Linked DNA regions of Homo sapiens: region 1 is linked to region 2. The links are contacts of gene promoters, found by promoter capture Hi-C in blood cells and fetal thymus (Javierre and others, 2016). All regions are on one chromosome and are shown on one strand. Each heading gives the region's core, a stretch centred on a gene start or on the middle of the fragment in contact. The rest is flanking DNA. Distances are from core to core; before and after follow the strand shown.

Evidence for each region. Contacts are between HindIII fragments. The CHiCAGO score rates a contact against its expected background, and 5 or more counts as called.
Region 1: a fragment that was not itself captured here is called in contact with the fragment with the promoter of ACO1 in region 2 in 2 of 17 cell types (naive B cells and monocytes); the score reaches 6.0 in naive B cells.

Annotation. Positions count from the first base shown.
Region 1 is chr9:32,601,081-32,608,254 of GRCh38, reverse strand. LOC105376015 (a long non-coding RNA gene) reads left to right here. Exons shown (of 2, transcript XR_929553.1): 2 at 3,788-4,348. Among named protein-coding and RNA genes, the nearest start is that of TAF1L, 31 kb to the left of the region's middle. The HindIII fragment of the contact is 964 bases long and covers 1,996-2,959 here.
Region 2 is chr9:32,379,809-32,386,809 of GRCh38, reverse strand. ACO1 (aconitase 1) reads right to left here and starts at 2,167. Exons shown (of 21, transcript NM_002197.3): 1 at 2,075-2,167. RefSeq lists a silencer at 1,987-2,366. The HindIII fragment of the contact is 14,350 bases long and covers 1-4,185 here.

The DNA of each region.
Region 1 (7,174 bases), core at 1,228-3,727, 220 kb before region 2:
AGGAGCTGAACACTGAGAACACATGGACACAGAGAGGAGAACAACACACACCAGGGCTGCTTGCAGGGTGGGGAGTGAGGGAAGGGAACTTAGAGAATGGATCAATAGGTGCAGCCAACCACCATGGCACACATATACCTATGTACAAACCTGTATGTTCTGCACATGTATCCTGTTTTTCTTTTTTTAGAAGGAATAAAGAAAAAATTTTTTAAAATTTATTATTGGTATTCAGATTAGATCACTTCATCCTGAGTCAATTATGGTCATTTAATGTTTTTTCACATTTAAGTCTAAAGTTGTATATTGTTGCTAGGTTTATGACCTCAGAAAGGACTTTGTAATATTAAGGAAGGAAAACAAAAGGATAAAAAAACCTGGGAAGGTAGTTCTTCCTGGAAAGATTTATTGCAGGCACAAGAAGCAAATTTTAGACCTCATGTTTATTTAATTTTTTTTCATGAAATTCATGAAGATATAGGCTCTTTGAAATTCAAAAAAAAAGAAAGAAGAAACTTATACTGAGATGAGACCTGTACTCGAACAAGCAGCTGAGGTAGAACGAGAAACCAGGTTTGGGCTCTTAGGAACATCCTTACTCCTGGCAATAGGAGGTTCAAGAAATCTTTGTGGATGCATATGTGAAGAATTAATGAATGATTAGGAATATCAATTCTCACAGCGTGGTATAGTCTCATGAAAACTGTAGAAGATTGAGCTGGACCACAGGGAACTGGGGAATATCTCTGAGTGCTGTTTTTGTTATCTACTTGAGTCCTCTCCTCCACACCCCTTAAGGTTAGTTCTCCCAGCAAGGGTCCAGCGTGATTACTCTGCTCTGGGTTTTCTCTTACCATTGCTTGTTGCCACTCTCCTGGTTCACCTGTTCCCATCCCTGAGCACTGCGCAGGCCACAGCTTTTTTAACCACTTAATATCCCCAGCAACTAATCATGGTGTGTCCTTGAATTCTAGATTTCCTAAGGCTGCAAAGAAAATTAAAAACAGGCCGGGTATGGTGGCTTATGCCTGTAATCCCAGAGCTTTGGGAGGCCAAGGCAGGAGAATCACTTCAGGCCAGGAGTTCGAGAGCAGCCTGAACAATGTAGCAAGACCTCATCTCTAAAAATAAAAGTGTATAATTTAATAATTCTTAGTAAGTTTAAAGAGTTTTGCAATCATTACTGCAATGGAATTTTAGAACATTTCCTTCACCCCCAAAATAACCTCATTCCCATTTGCAGTCACTTCCTATTTCCACCTTCAGCACCACCCCCAACCCCCGCCACACAAAACCACTGATCTGCTTTCTGTTTCTATTGATGTGTCTGTGATGGATATTTCATATATTTATATTCATATGAATGGAACCATGGTCTTTTGTTTATGTCTTCTTTCACTTAATGTATTTGACATGCATTCATGTTGAAGCATGTGTCAATACTTTGTTCCTTTTTATGACTGGAATAGTGTTCTGTTGTATGGATATACCACATTTTTCTTATCCATTCACCAGTTAAAACATTTGGGTTATTTCCATTTTTTGGATATTATGGCTAATGTTCTCAGGAATATTCATATACAAATCTTCATGTGAATGTAGATTTTCATTTATCTTGGGTAGATAATAATGGCTGAATTGTTGGGTCATATGGTGACTCTATTTAGTATTTTAAGAAACTGAAAAATGTTTTACAAAGTGGCTGCACCATTTTCCCGCCAGCAGAATACAAGAGCTACAGTTTCTTTACATCCTTGTCAATATTTGTTATTGCCTGTCTTTTTATACATTGGCTTGGTAAATATTTGTAATAATGTGCAGAACCCCATGCCACCTTTGTAGACCCTCAGATGGAAGCTGCTGTCTGGAATCACATTCTGAGAAATGGATTAATGATCCTTCATTGATGCTTAGGACCTATGTACACCTTCTAGCTGTTGTATTAAACTCTAAAAACTCTAGTATTTTTGTAAAAATATCATACTACTTAAAGCTTAGGGTGTCCATGTGTCAACAACTATTAATTATACTCCAGTATCCAGTCTCCCCTTCTTACACAGGGGGCAGTCAAAGAGTCCCATTTTCCAGCCTCCCTTGCAGCTAGATGTAGCTATGTGATTAAGTTCAGAAGAATGGGATGTGAGCAAAAATGTCATGTTCTCTTAAATGGAGCCAGGCTTTTACCTCTTTCCACATCCTCACTGATGGGAAGGTGGAAGTGAGGGTAGCCATCCTTAGACCAAAAACAGATACTAGGTGCTGAGATTGGCAGGGCATTAAGACACAGGAGGCTTGGGCAACTGGTGATTGCAGGGCCTCCATTCCAGCCCTGGATTGCTTACCTGGATTTTAACATGAGAGATAAGTATCTTGTTTAATCCAGTGTTATTTTTTATTTATTTTGTATTTATTTGAGATAGAGTTTTGCTCTGTTGCCCAGGCTGGAGTGCAGTGGCTGCAATCTCAGCTCACCGCAACCTCCGCCTCCCGGGTTTGAGCAATTCTCCTGCCCACCATCTCGCCTAGCTAGTTTTTTGTATTTTTAGTAGAGACGGGGTTTTGCTATCTTGGCCAGGCTGGTCTGGAACTCCTGACCTCAAGTGATCCACCCACCTAGGCCTCTCAAAGGGCTGGGATTACAGGCATGAGCCACTGAGGCTAGCCCCAGTGTTATTTTGAGGCTCTCTGTTATAACAGCCAAAAAGTGAAATTACTAACATCTAGAATGGCTCTGTAGGAACATGGCTAGAATATGAGAGTCTCCGCTGATGAATATGATCATACAAGGAAAAGCAGGGCAATGGAGACAAAAAAGCCTGGGAAGAAAATCAGGACACTAGAATTTTAGTAGCATTTTTACCTCTAGTCAGCTTTGTGATCTCAGGCAAGCCTTATATTTCTCTGTCTTCATCCATGAAACAAGATGGTTTTGTACAATTGAAAATAAATGCTTAAAGCTTGAAAATAAAAAGCATCTGGTTTCAGAAGTACTTCATTATATTCCTAATCACTGGTAAAGCAACTCAGTACTACAGGCTGGGAAGGAGAGGGAAGGGAGACATAGGGATAGATTTGTAGAAGAATACAAAATTACAGCTAGATAGAAGGAATGAGTTCTAGTGTTATATAGCGCTACAGGATGATGATAGTTAACAATAATATACTCTATAGTTTCAAATAGCTAGCAGGAGGATATAGAATGTTCCCAACACAAAGAAATGATAAATGTTTGACATGATGGCTATGCTAATTACCTTGACCTTATCACTATACATCATATGTGTTGAAACATCACTATGCACCCCATAAATATGTACAAATCATTATGTGTCATATAAAATATTTTTTTAAATTAGGAAAATATATAAATGTAAACCTTTGGTATCAACTTTCTTAAATAAAATAGATGTTAATCATCTTCAGCAGCTGCATCAGTGAGAATGTTAACATGGGGCTAAGAATTTTCCTATACACAGTATTAGCTTTTTAAGTCCTCCCAATGGGTGCCATTATTGTCTTCATTTTACGAATAAGGAACCGGAGGTTTAATGAAGTTAAGGACCTTGCCCTGCCATGCAGATAGTTAGTGGTGGAGCCAGGGTTTCAGTTCCTGAACCCGGAACACAGGTGTTTGGCCACTGCTACTCTGCCTCCATAACTATACCCAACACATACCAGAAGATCAATAGTGATGGCCAGTGGCCATATGACCACTTTAGCTATTGTGACTAGAAGGGATTATCATAGTTTAAAATGAATAAACAACTCTTCCTAATTTGCTCACTAGGTTAAGGTGACATGGGAAGCGATCATTGTGAGTCATCCAGGGAACACAGGGAGAGTTAAGCTGATGGTGACGCACACCTGCCAACTGCTGAGAAGAAGATAATCAGCCCTCAGGAATTTTCGACCCAGCCGCACTGCACAGCCTGGTTGCTGGACTCCTAGGACCAAGCCTCCTGGGCCTGGCAGGCAGCTGTAATTCAGAGTGGGTCGGGGCTCCAGGATGTGTTGTTTCCTGTGCATTGCACTTCGCAGAGGCACAGAGCAGAAGCTAAGCCTGATGGCCTCTGAACACTGGTTGGGTTTTTTGTTTTTTTTTTTTCCTGGCAACAAAATTAAAGCCGCACCTAGGGATTTATCCACCCTTTTGCTGATCTCGATGTGAACTGTGCAGCTGAATCCCTGCACACAGTACTGACTCTCTCAGGGTGTTGCTTAAAATGTGGCTGAGCACAAATGCAAAACATCGTCTTGTTGAAGTCAGCACACAGAATTAATCTCTAAAAGTAATGAAAGAATTAGTTTCACTTTGTAAGATAAATAAATGCAAAGTATGGTGAAGTCAGAGATGTTCAGCTCAGTTGCTTTTAGACGGCGACATCTTTTGAAAATGATATTATATATTTGGGACACATTTTAATGCCACTCTAATATTTTGTGTCATTATAAGGATGCTTTGGGTTTTTTTGTTGTTGTTTTTGAAGTCTATTATCATATGAGTTTTTTTTTTTTTTTTTTTTTTTTTTTTGAGACAGAGTCTCGCTGTCGCCCAGGCTGGAGTGCGTGGCGCGATCTCGGCTCACTGCAGGCTCCGCCCCCCGGGGTTCACGCCATTCTCCTGCCTCAGGCTCCCGAGTAGCTGGGACTACAGGCGCCCGCCACCTTGCCTGGCTAATTTTTTGTATTTTTAGTAGAGATGGCGTTTCACTGTGTTACCCAGGATGGTCTCAATCTCCTGGCCTCGTGATCCGCCCGCCTCGGCCTTCCAAAGTGCTGGGATTACAGGCGTGAGCCACCGCGCCCGGCCTAGCATATGAGATTTTTAACCTGCAACGATTCACCTTTAGTGAATTTTTAGTATTGGAAATGATACAAACTTCAAAGTGTCTTGTCCTTTTTTTTTTAAGCTCTTGGAAACATAAGTATGTGATTTAAGTAAATATAAAATTAGAAGCCATCTCAACACTAGAACTTATTCCTCCTATCTAGCTGTAATTCAGCCTCTAAAGTCAATGTGAAATAAGGCTCACTGTTTTTCACCCCATCCTTAATGTTATTTTTACCCTGACACTGAATTTCAGGCTTTGGTTTTTCTGAGTGTGGCCCACCTGCTTGAAAGTTGTTCTGAAAGTTTGAGGTAAAGGAAGTCAGATCAGAGAGCATTTTCCCCCAGTACCTAACAAAATGAATAAAATGACTGCATTTTAAAGGGCCAAAAATTTCTCATCAGTGATCAAGATTGAAAAAAGGGCAAAACTTCATGTAATACAGTTTTACTTTCAACTGTACGGCTTTCAACCTTGTAATGACACTTGCTTTTCAGAAAGAGAAATGAGGAAAGGTGAGTCAACAAAATTCTGATACTTTTTCTGAATTCGCCTTGATGTGAGGAAGAAGTGGATTGAGGCACGAGGAGGTGGGGAAACTGACGCGTAGGAGCCACTCTTCGTGCCACTGCAGACCCTTGCTAAGGCAGAGGAGTAGGCAGGGCCGGGCATTCTCCAGGGTGCTTGCTGAATGGGGGGATCAACCAAAGCCCTTGGGTTAGAAAATGTCCCATGCTGGGAAGACTGGCCCTGGTAAGGGACATTTGCTGGGGCTTGCAAGAGAGAATCCAGCCAGGCTAGCAACAACTGTAGGCAGCTCCTGATGACCTTTCCTCCTTCTCACAAATTTTCTGGCTAGAGAAAAGTAAGTAGAAAATAACAGCCAGCCCTCAAGTTTTTCTCCATAGGGGTGATAAATAGTTTCCAGGAAGAGGGTCAAGAAGAACTACAGTAGATCAGAGAAACTGAAGTTTATATCATAGCACTGCATAAGTTTAGCTTGAGCAAAATTAAAATAGATGTCATGTCAACCTTGCAAATGAGCCACAGAGGAGAGACGGAGAGAGAGACGGTTAACATGAACATAACAATCTCTGCTTCACAGGGTTGTTGGAAGGAGTAAAAGAGAAAAAGTATGTAAATACTGGACCACAGAACCTGATACATTCGAAGTACACAAAAATCATAGTCTCTCCTCCACTCCCATCCCTTGTTCATAGCCCTACATATTGTTTTTTGTTTTGTTTTGTTCAATTCAGGCTCACTTTGCATTCTTACAACACTGTAGATCTTTAGGTTGAGTAATTTATGGCTTAAAGCTAAATAATTATTTGCCAGCAAACTGTTCTTGAAAATATATAGCAGCATAGGAAAGGTCATGGGCTTTAGTGTTAAAACTAGGCTTTGATCCTGGGCCACCTCCTTGAGTTTGTGTTTTTAGGCAGGTTATACATTTAATCTCTCTGAGCTGACTTTTCTTCTTTATGAATGATATCAATAATCCTAAATTTGCTGTACCTGTATATGTATAAAGCACCTGGCACAAACTAGGTGCTCCTTGAGGTGGCACGGCTAATATCATTTTACTTTTTCAGATTGTTATACAAAACATCAACAAATTATTGTTTGTTACCCCAACTGCTTCTTTAGGAGGGTGAATTTTGTTACTGTAGAGTATCTTGTTTTGCAGAGCATCATGATGTCCTGGGGTCTGTAAGTTTATGAATTGAGGGAAGTGGCTAAATTGCTTGCGTAAGAAAGGGAAGGAAAAAAAATGAAAATGAAGGCAGGAGTTGGGGGTAGGATGATCAAGAATCTAGGGGAGAGAATTAAGCAGTGAAATCTGGGAGGATTCAGGGATAAAAATCCCTAGAGAGGATAAACCAGGAAGGGATTTGTGGAGGTACAAATATAGAATGTCAGTTTTTACCTTGTTTTCTTCAGGTTGTATGATATAGCTACCCTTCCTGTCCCCTCCTTCTCCTCCAGGACCCACAGAGTCTTCAGGGAAATTAACATTGCTCACTGAAGCTTTTCTGTGGCTGGATTTGGTGGAGAGCAGCAGGACTAGGAGAGGTGCTGAGTTCTGCATCCAGGTTGATGCAGTGAGGCTGAGCAGTGTGAGCAGATGCGGGAATCAGAGGACACAGGGGAGGTGACATCTGGCTTTTGGGTAGATTTCCACAGGTCTGATCATGCTCTGTATTTGCCATCTGCCAAACTTTATTGAGGAAGTCTTAAGGTCTGGGTAGATATGAAATCTCTCAGCTTGTAGAATTTCAACTACTCTTTCCATAGTGGCAGAAAAGTAGAAGTGAAGACAGTACCAGGACCATGTATCTTCT
Region 2 (7,001 bases), core at 918-3,417:
CCAATAAAAATCTACTGAAAGAATGAAGGAATGAGACCCCACCATCAAAGTGGAATTTTTTAATACAAAGAACACAGCAGGTGCTCAGAGTTTAGATCCCATTTCCTTCTCCTGTGGACTTCTCCTCCTCCTCACCTGTGGACTGTGCAACACACACAACACGCTCATGTGCATGCAACATTTCTCAAGTATCGGCTGTAGCATTTAAACTGATCCATCAGAGCACAAGAGGCTCTATGGATGAAGGAACAAAAGGGAGGATGGAGTTAGAAAATTTCTTCCTCCCAAATATATACACATAACATCTGTCTTGAACTTGTTCTGACAAGGCACGAAGCTAAGGAAAGAGTCCCGTGAAGGACCTCACCTACCACACTCCAGGATGGTGGAAACTGCTTTTTGACAGGGGCTGAGGAAGCACCACTCAGAGTGACACCCTCTGAAAGTGGAAAGTGAAAGAACGTCAAGACTGGAAATCATTATTCCAATAAACTCAAGGCTAATAACCATGCAACTGCAAACAGAAATGAACACGTGCAAGGGAAGGCAAAAGCATGCCTCCTTGTTCTTTTGGAAATAACTTCCTGACTACTTGGTAACTCTCACAGGAACCCCTACACACTTGGCATGGTCTCCCCACTGGCACTTTTGTGAGCCTACAGGTCCTGTTTGCCACATCACTGTTGTAATCCTGATGCACAGACAGGTCAGCTCTGCAAGCACAGAGACAACCAAAGGCATGTGCGAAGCCTTGCTGACTTTTCAGGAGGCTGGCAAGGTTCATCACAGCCTCACGTGGGGACCTAGTACATGGTTTCCAAAGTGAGATCAAACTTGGTTCCAGATACCAGAGGTTAATACTGTCCATGGCATGAGGTGGTGTGTGTTCCCAATCAGAGGAAGGATCACAAACAAGAAGCAGGCCCAATGAATGAAGCCTCTGAAGCATTTCCTACACCAGCATCCTCAAAGTGTGGTGCAGAGAACTCCTAGGGATCTCCAAAGTCAAAACCATTTTCCTAGTAATAAAATGTTACTTGCTTTTTTTCATTCACACATTTTCAGGAGTATACAGTGGAGGTCTCAAGAGGCTACATGATATGTGATATTGCAACAGACTGCAGAAGCAGCTATCAGAATCCAGCTGTCTTCAATTACGCTTGACATCAAAGAGATTTGCAAAAATGTAAAACAATGCCACTCTTCTCAATCATTTTCTGTTTTGGGAAATATAGTTCTTTTTCATAAAAATAGGCAATGTTAAGATATAATTAGTTCACTATTCTTTTTAAATGAATTATTATAGTACAAATTTCTCAGTCTTACTTACATATTATAAATATGGATAGATATAACACACATAAAAGCTCCTTAAGATACTAATTTTTAAGAGTGTAAAGGAGTACTGAGTACCAGAAAAGTTTGGGGACTTCTGTCCTAGAGGTTGTCCCCCAGGGAAGAGAGTTACATGTGTTGCAAGAAGGAAGATGCCATTATGATGTGCTAGCTGAATCTAGAAAAAAATGACTTGGTCATAACTGCAGCCCAAGCTCCTTTCTAGATCTCTGAATCTATCATGGTGGGCTCTGTGTTCAAGCCTCCCACGAAGGGTCTCTTCCCCCTCATCCCATTTTCCCTTTACCCCTTGGAGTGGATTCCCGGATCTGCCCGCACAACTTTAGCAAGGGTTTCCCTATCCAGCCAGCCGGGCCTGGGCGAGGACTCCCAGTGCGGGCCTCACACCCTCGGGGTTAGGACTCCCAGGACTGGCCGCACACCCTAGGCAAGGACTTTCAGGACAGCACGCACAGCCAAGGCTAAGAAGGGTCTAGGAAAGCCACTTCCAATCCCTGGTTTCTCTCCCCGGCATGACATAGACTGGGGACAGGGTGGAGACGTCAGTCGCCAGAAACACGTCCCCGATTCTCCTCTCAGCCTCCCCAAGCTCGCCTCCGTGTCCCCCGTGCCGCCACTGCCTCGGGCACCTCGGTAAAGGCCCGCACCGACTCTCGAGGGATACAGGGTGGACGGCGCTCCCGCCTGGGGACGTGGGTCGGGCCGCGTCGGTACTCACCTCCGACTGCACGGCGGGGCTCCCGCGACCGGCGAACCTGACCCAAGCAGCGGGACGCGTTCCCGTGCGCTGCGCGGTTCCAGCTGCCGCCTCCACGCTCCGCCCCCTCTCGCCCCCGGGGCCGCCGCGCGATGGGCGGAGCAGGGGCGGGAAGGGCGGAGCAGGGGCGGGACGGACGGGCAGCTAGCCGAAGAAGGGGCGGAGCCTGCGGGCGCCCCCGCGGGCCTGGAGGACTTCGCCCCGGGCTGGAGGCTAGGGTTGCGAAGGGCTCCTCCGCTGGAAGTGGGAGGGCTGATCCCTCGGCCCGGGTCCGCTTCTGCCAGCATGGGACCTGGGACGAGGGTGTCTGTTGCTCACTTTGGAGCTTAGCATGTGACTCCCCAGCCGGCGTTAGGAAGTGACCAAAGGGTGGGGAAGAAATGGAATTATTTTTAAAAAATGATTTGGCCATAACTGGAGAGGCTTCATGTACGTGTGGTCACTTGGCCCGCCTCCCTTCTCACTTTGTCCGTCCCCACCCTACCCACCCTCTCCACCCTCGCCTTAATTCTTTGCGCAAAGCCTGCCAAGTGGACATCGGAGTCACGCTGTCAGAATAGGACTTCAGCATTTCCGTGGCAAAAGTTCTATATGTAGATTTCCTTGGACATGTAACAACACTTTCTAATGCACGATGTTCACCGGTCTGAAGTCGGAGAAATGGCTGGGAGATGGCAGCAAGTGGGCTTTCACAAGATCTGCTTTTCATGTTGGTAGGAGTTGTGCCCTCTTGGGTGAATGGCGTTCAAAGAAGTGATTAGATCTTTCTAGATGAAAGGTGGTGAGGTTTTCCTGCCCAAATTATTTGGAAAGTTACTGTAGTTTTCTGAATAAGCAGCTTATAGGATGAGTAAACAATAGCCAGTACTAATAGCCCCCCTGCTACTTTATACTGCCCTCCTATTCTGCACAAAGCCCTGTGATCGACTCTTTCCACGTTATTCAGTTCAGCTCTTCCAACCACCTTACAAGTAAAGAATATTACCCGTCTTTGCAGGTGTGCAATGCGCAACAGCTGAGACTCAGTCCTTAGGTTGGTTTGACACCAAAGCCTACACCTTCCCTGTCATACTGCACTATAGGGTACAACTATCGTCTAGTTATATTTAACTTTGAAATATAAATACTTATATTTATTTTGAAAGGGGAAGTAACTGTATTTCCAATATGAGAGGAGACTGTTTTCCCACCCACTTCCTAAATCCTTTCCATTCACATTAGTAATTAAATTTTCTTTGAATGTCCACCATATGGCAGAGGTGCACCACAATCCCTGAAAAATCATGCTCCAGTCCCCTTGGGAGGTAGGGAGAGTAGGGGCAAGGTGAGAGTGAGTAGAAGGCTGGGGAAGTCCGATGAGGACACATCCAGCTAAATTGCGATTCTTAATGAGGCAGCCATTCGGAAAGCAAAGTATCTAATGTTCAATGATAACATCCGTGTAACTGAGAATCCTTCGCAGAAAACAATCAAATCAGAGCTATGAAGGGAATTGAGATTTATTAGTAAGCACGCTGGTCAAAACCGTGAAGGAAATAGTTCCACATCCCCCCAGTCTGTTGCTCTTGGACGTTGTCACCAGTGACGTGCAGATCGTGAATCCCAGGGCCTGTCCTCTGTTCCTGTCCTTACTCACTACTCTGTGGTATTTGACACTGGCGATTCGTTTTCCTAGAAATGTTAACCTCCTTTTGGCTTTTCAGCCCTCCGCTCTTAGGAGTCACCTCTTCCCTCTTTTGTCCCTCTTTTTTAAGGTCTTTCCCTACACTCTCTCCTCTTGCTTTATATGTTTCTCCATTTGCTGAGTTTTTCTTCATCTATTTTCTCAGTATGCAGACTGCCTGCCACTTCTAGCTGAAGCCTGCTATGTCTCTGTCATTGGTCTTAGTTAACTTTCTGACCTTCACACTCTTGATTTGCAGCCATATGTGGCAACCCCACCTGGATATTCCAAAGGTGTCTGTATTAGACCGTTCTCACGCTGCTGTAAAGAACCCTGAGACTGGGTAATTCATAGGGAAGGAGGTTTAATTGGCTCACAGTTCTGCATGCTGGGGAGGCTTCAGGAAGCTTACAATTATGGCAGAAGGGGAAGCAGGTATGTCTTACCTGGCAGCAGGCAAGAGAGTGTCCTCTGAATGCACAGTGGTCCTCCTGAATGCTTTGAGGGGACCTTAGAATCCCTAAATTTTTCACTGAATATATGTCTTCATACCAGAGAAAATTTGAAATAAACGTTTTGTTCCTCTTTAAGAAAAAAAGAGTTAAATTCATAACAAGGAGAGGCAGGTCTTAGCCTCATCTTGGCTCCCGGTAAATATCCAACGGCTCTCCCCTGATGCCCTCTTCCCACCACACCTGCTATACGTTTAATTTTCGTGCTCTCTTAATTACTGCCTAAGGGCCTGATCCCTGAGCTGCCTTCCCAGGGAACAAGAATCCTCTGGGCAGCTGCTTACAGTTTCTCTCAGTATAGCTAATAATAAAAATCATCCCCATGATCCAATCACCTCCTTCCCTCCACAGGTGGGGATTACAAACCATATCAGTGCCTGTCATTCATCACATCTAAAATGGGAATTTAGTGTCTTCTCTAACCATCTGTCTCTCCCCTCCTATCCATTTAGTTTCTTTTTCATCCTAATCCTGCATCCCGAATTTGTATTTCATGATCTGCTGAGAAAGCTAAATGTTTAAGGGGTATATTGCCATGGCATATTACTACGCTCTCACAGGGTCCACCTAACAAATATTTCTGTCACGATATAAAAGGTTCTGCTAATGGCCCAGCTGAGGGCATATACTCTAGGGACCTTCAGAGAGGATGCCACCCAAGCATGTAACTGCTCAGGCACCCCAGCTGTGCTCTGGTGGGGGGCAGAGGCAGAAGGACCTTCATTTGAAGTAACAGTATTGTTTTAGCAGCCTTACCTGCTAGAAGGCTCTGCTGCTATAAGAAGAACCATGAAGATTCTGCCAGAGACCTGTTGAGCTCTGAGGAATGCCTCATCATATTCCACACCGATTTCAGTTACTTGTATATGCTGGACTTCCTCAGTTTATTGAAAGGTCCTAGGAACTATACCCAACTAACTTTGTATCATGCTTTACAATTTATACTGCATTTTCACATACATGTCATTTAATAGGAAGGGAGAGGTGTAAGAGAAAAAGTCAAGCATAACGCTTCTCAAACCTTGGGGTACATTGAAAACATGCGTGCCTGTGTTGTGCTCTTAGGAGGCTGAGTTTGATGTGGGTGGTCAAAAGACCATGCTTTGAGAAACACCAATGGTAGTTCTCCGAATCTGGGTGTTTCTCAGATTTACCATAGGGCACTGATAAAAATATAGCCTCCTGTATCCTCTGCCTCCTAGAATGTCTGATTCATTAGGTCAGGGTGGGGGTCTGTGTTCAGATTCTGAATACGCTACATTTTTACCACAGGTGATTCTGCTGTAGCATGTCCCCAGATTGGCACCAAAGACCTGTTACCTAGAAATATACACTCCATGAGGGCAGGGGCCCATGTCAGTTTGTTCATCATCCCTAACATGGAGTCTGGTGCATAGTAGGTGCTCAATACAAGTTTGTTGACTGACTTACTGTCAGTGTCTTTCTATTGCTTACCCTTTGCTCTCTGTTGGCCTTTGCGCTGTTCAGAGTCCTCTAGAGTGGCACGGAGGGAAGACATCTGTTTGGCAATGAATGAAGTATAAAATGGTCCTCCTGAATGCTTTGAGGGGACTTTAGAATCCCTAAATTTTTCACTGAATATATGTCTTCATACTAGAGAAAATTTGAAATAAATGTTTTGTTCCTCTTAAAATCAAAGTTATATTCATAACAAGGAGAGGCAGGTCTTAGCCTCATCTTGGTTCCCGGTAAATAGCCAACTGCTCTCCCCTGATGCCCTCTTCTCACCACACCTGCTATACGCTTAATTTGCATGCTCTCTTAATTACTGCCTAAGGGCCTGATCCCTGAACTGCCTTCCCAGGGAACAAGAATCCTCTGGGCAGCTGCTTACAGTTAAGCACCATTCCTCTCAATATAGCTAATAATAAAAATCTTCACAACCGCCTGTTGATGCTGGTAACATTGTTATTGCCATAGTTTCACAGATGAGGAAACTGAGATTCAGAGTAGTTACACAGAATGCTTCAGTCATGAAACTTAAAGGGTGATCCTGGGGTTTTAGAGAAGGCTGGCCTCACTCCATAGCTTGTGCTTTTAAGCATTATGCAACAAAATCATCAGATACCCTGAAGCTGTAAATTATTTGTTCTTTGCAGAAGAGGGACTTAAATGTTCTAGAGAAAAGATTTGTTCTATCACCATATAGGCTGGAATTCCTTATTCACGTATTTCCAGGGCTTGTTCTCCCTGATGATAGCACAGAGATCCCTGCTGCAGCCATGTAATGTAGGGACACCTGGGTAAAGAGAGTCCTCATTCTGGGGGATGGAGGTGTTGGAAATCAGGGGCAGCTTGAGTATGAATTCCAGGATTGGTACATAATTCCTAGGTGTCTAGTACCATCTTTCACATGTGTTAATTTGCTGGATACTTTTTGAGTACTTTGTGTTATATATTTTTCAGAAGGGAGAGGGAAGTACTCTGCAGGATTGGTCCTTTAAATTATTTAGGTATACACAAAATAAAACATTTTTTTCAAGAAAATAATTTGGTAATGTTGACAAATGAGAGTAAAAATAAAAATTTGTCACTAATTTGACTCATTTCTAATTCCAGTTTATGATGAGATTACTTCCACATGTCAGTTTAAGTGCTTTTTAAATTTTCTTCTTGAGACAGGATTTTTCTCTGTTGCCCAGGCTGGAGTGCAGTGGCAGGATCACGGCTCAATGCAGCCTCGACCTCCTGG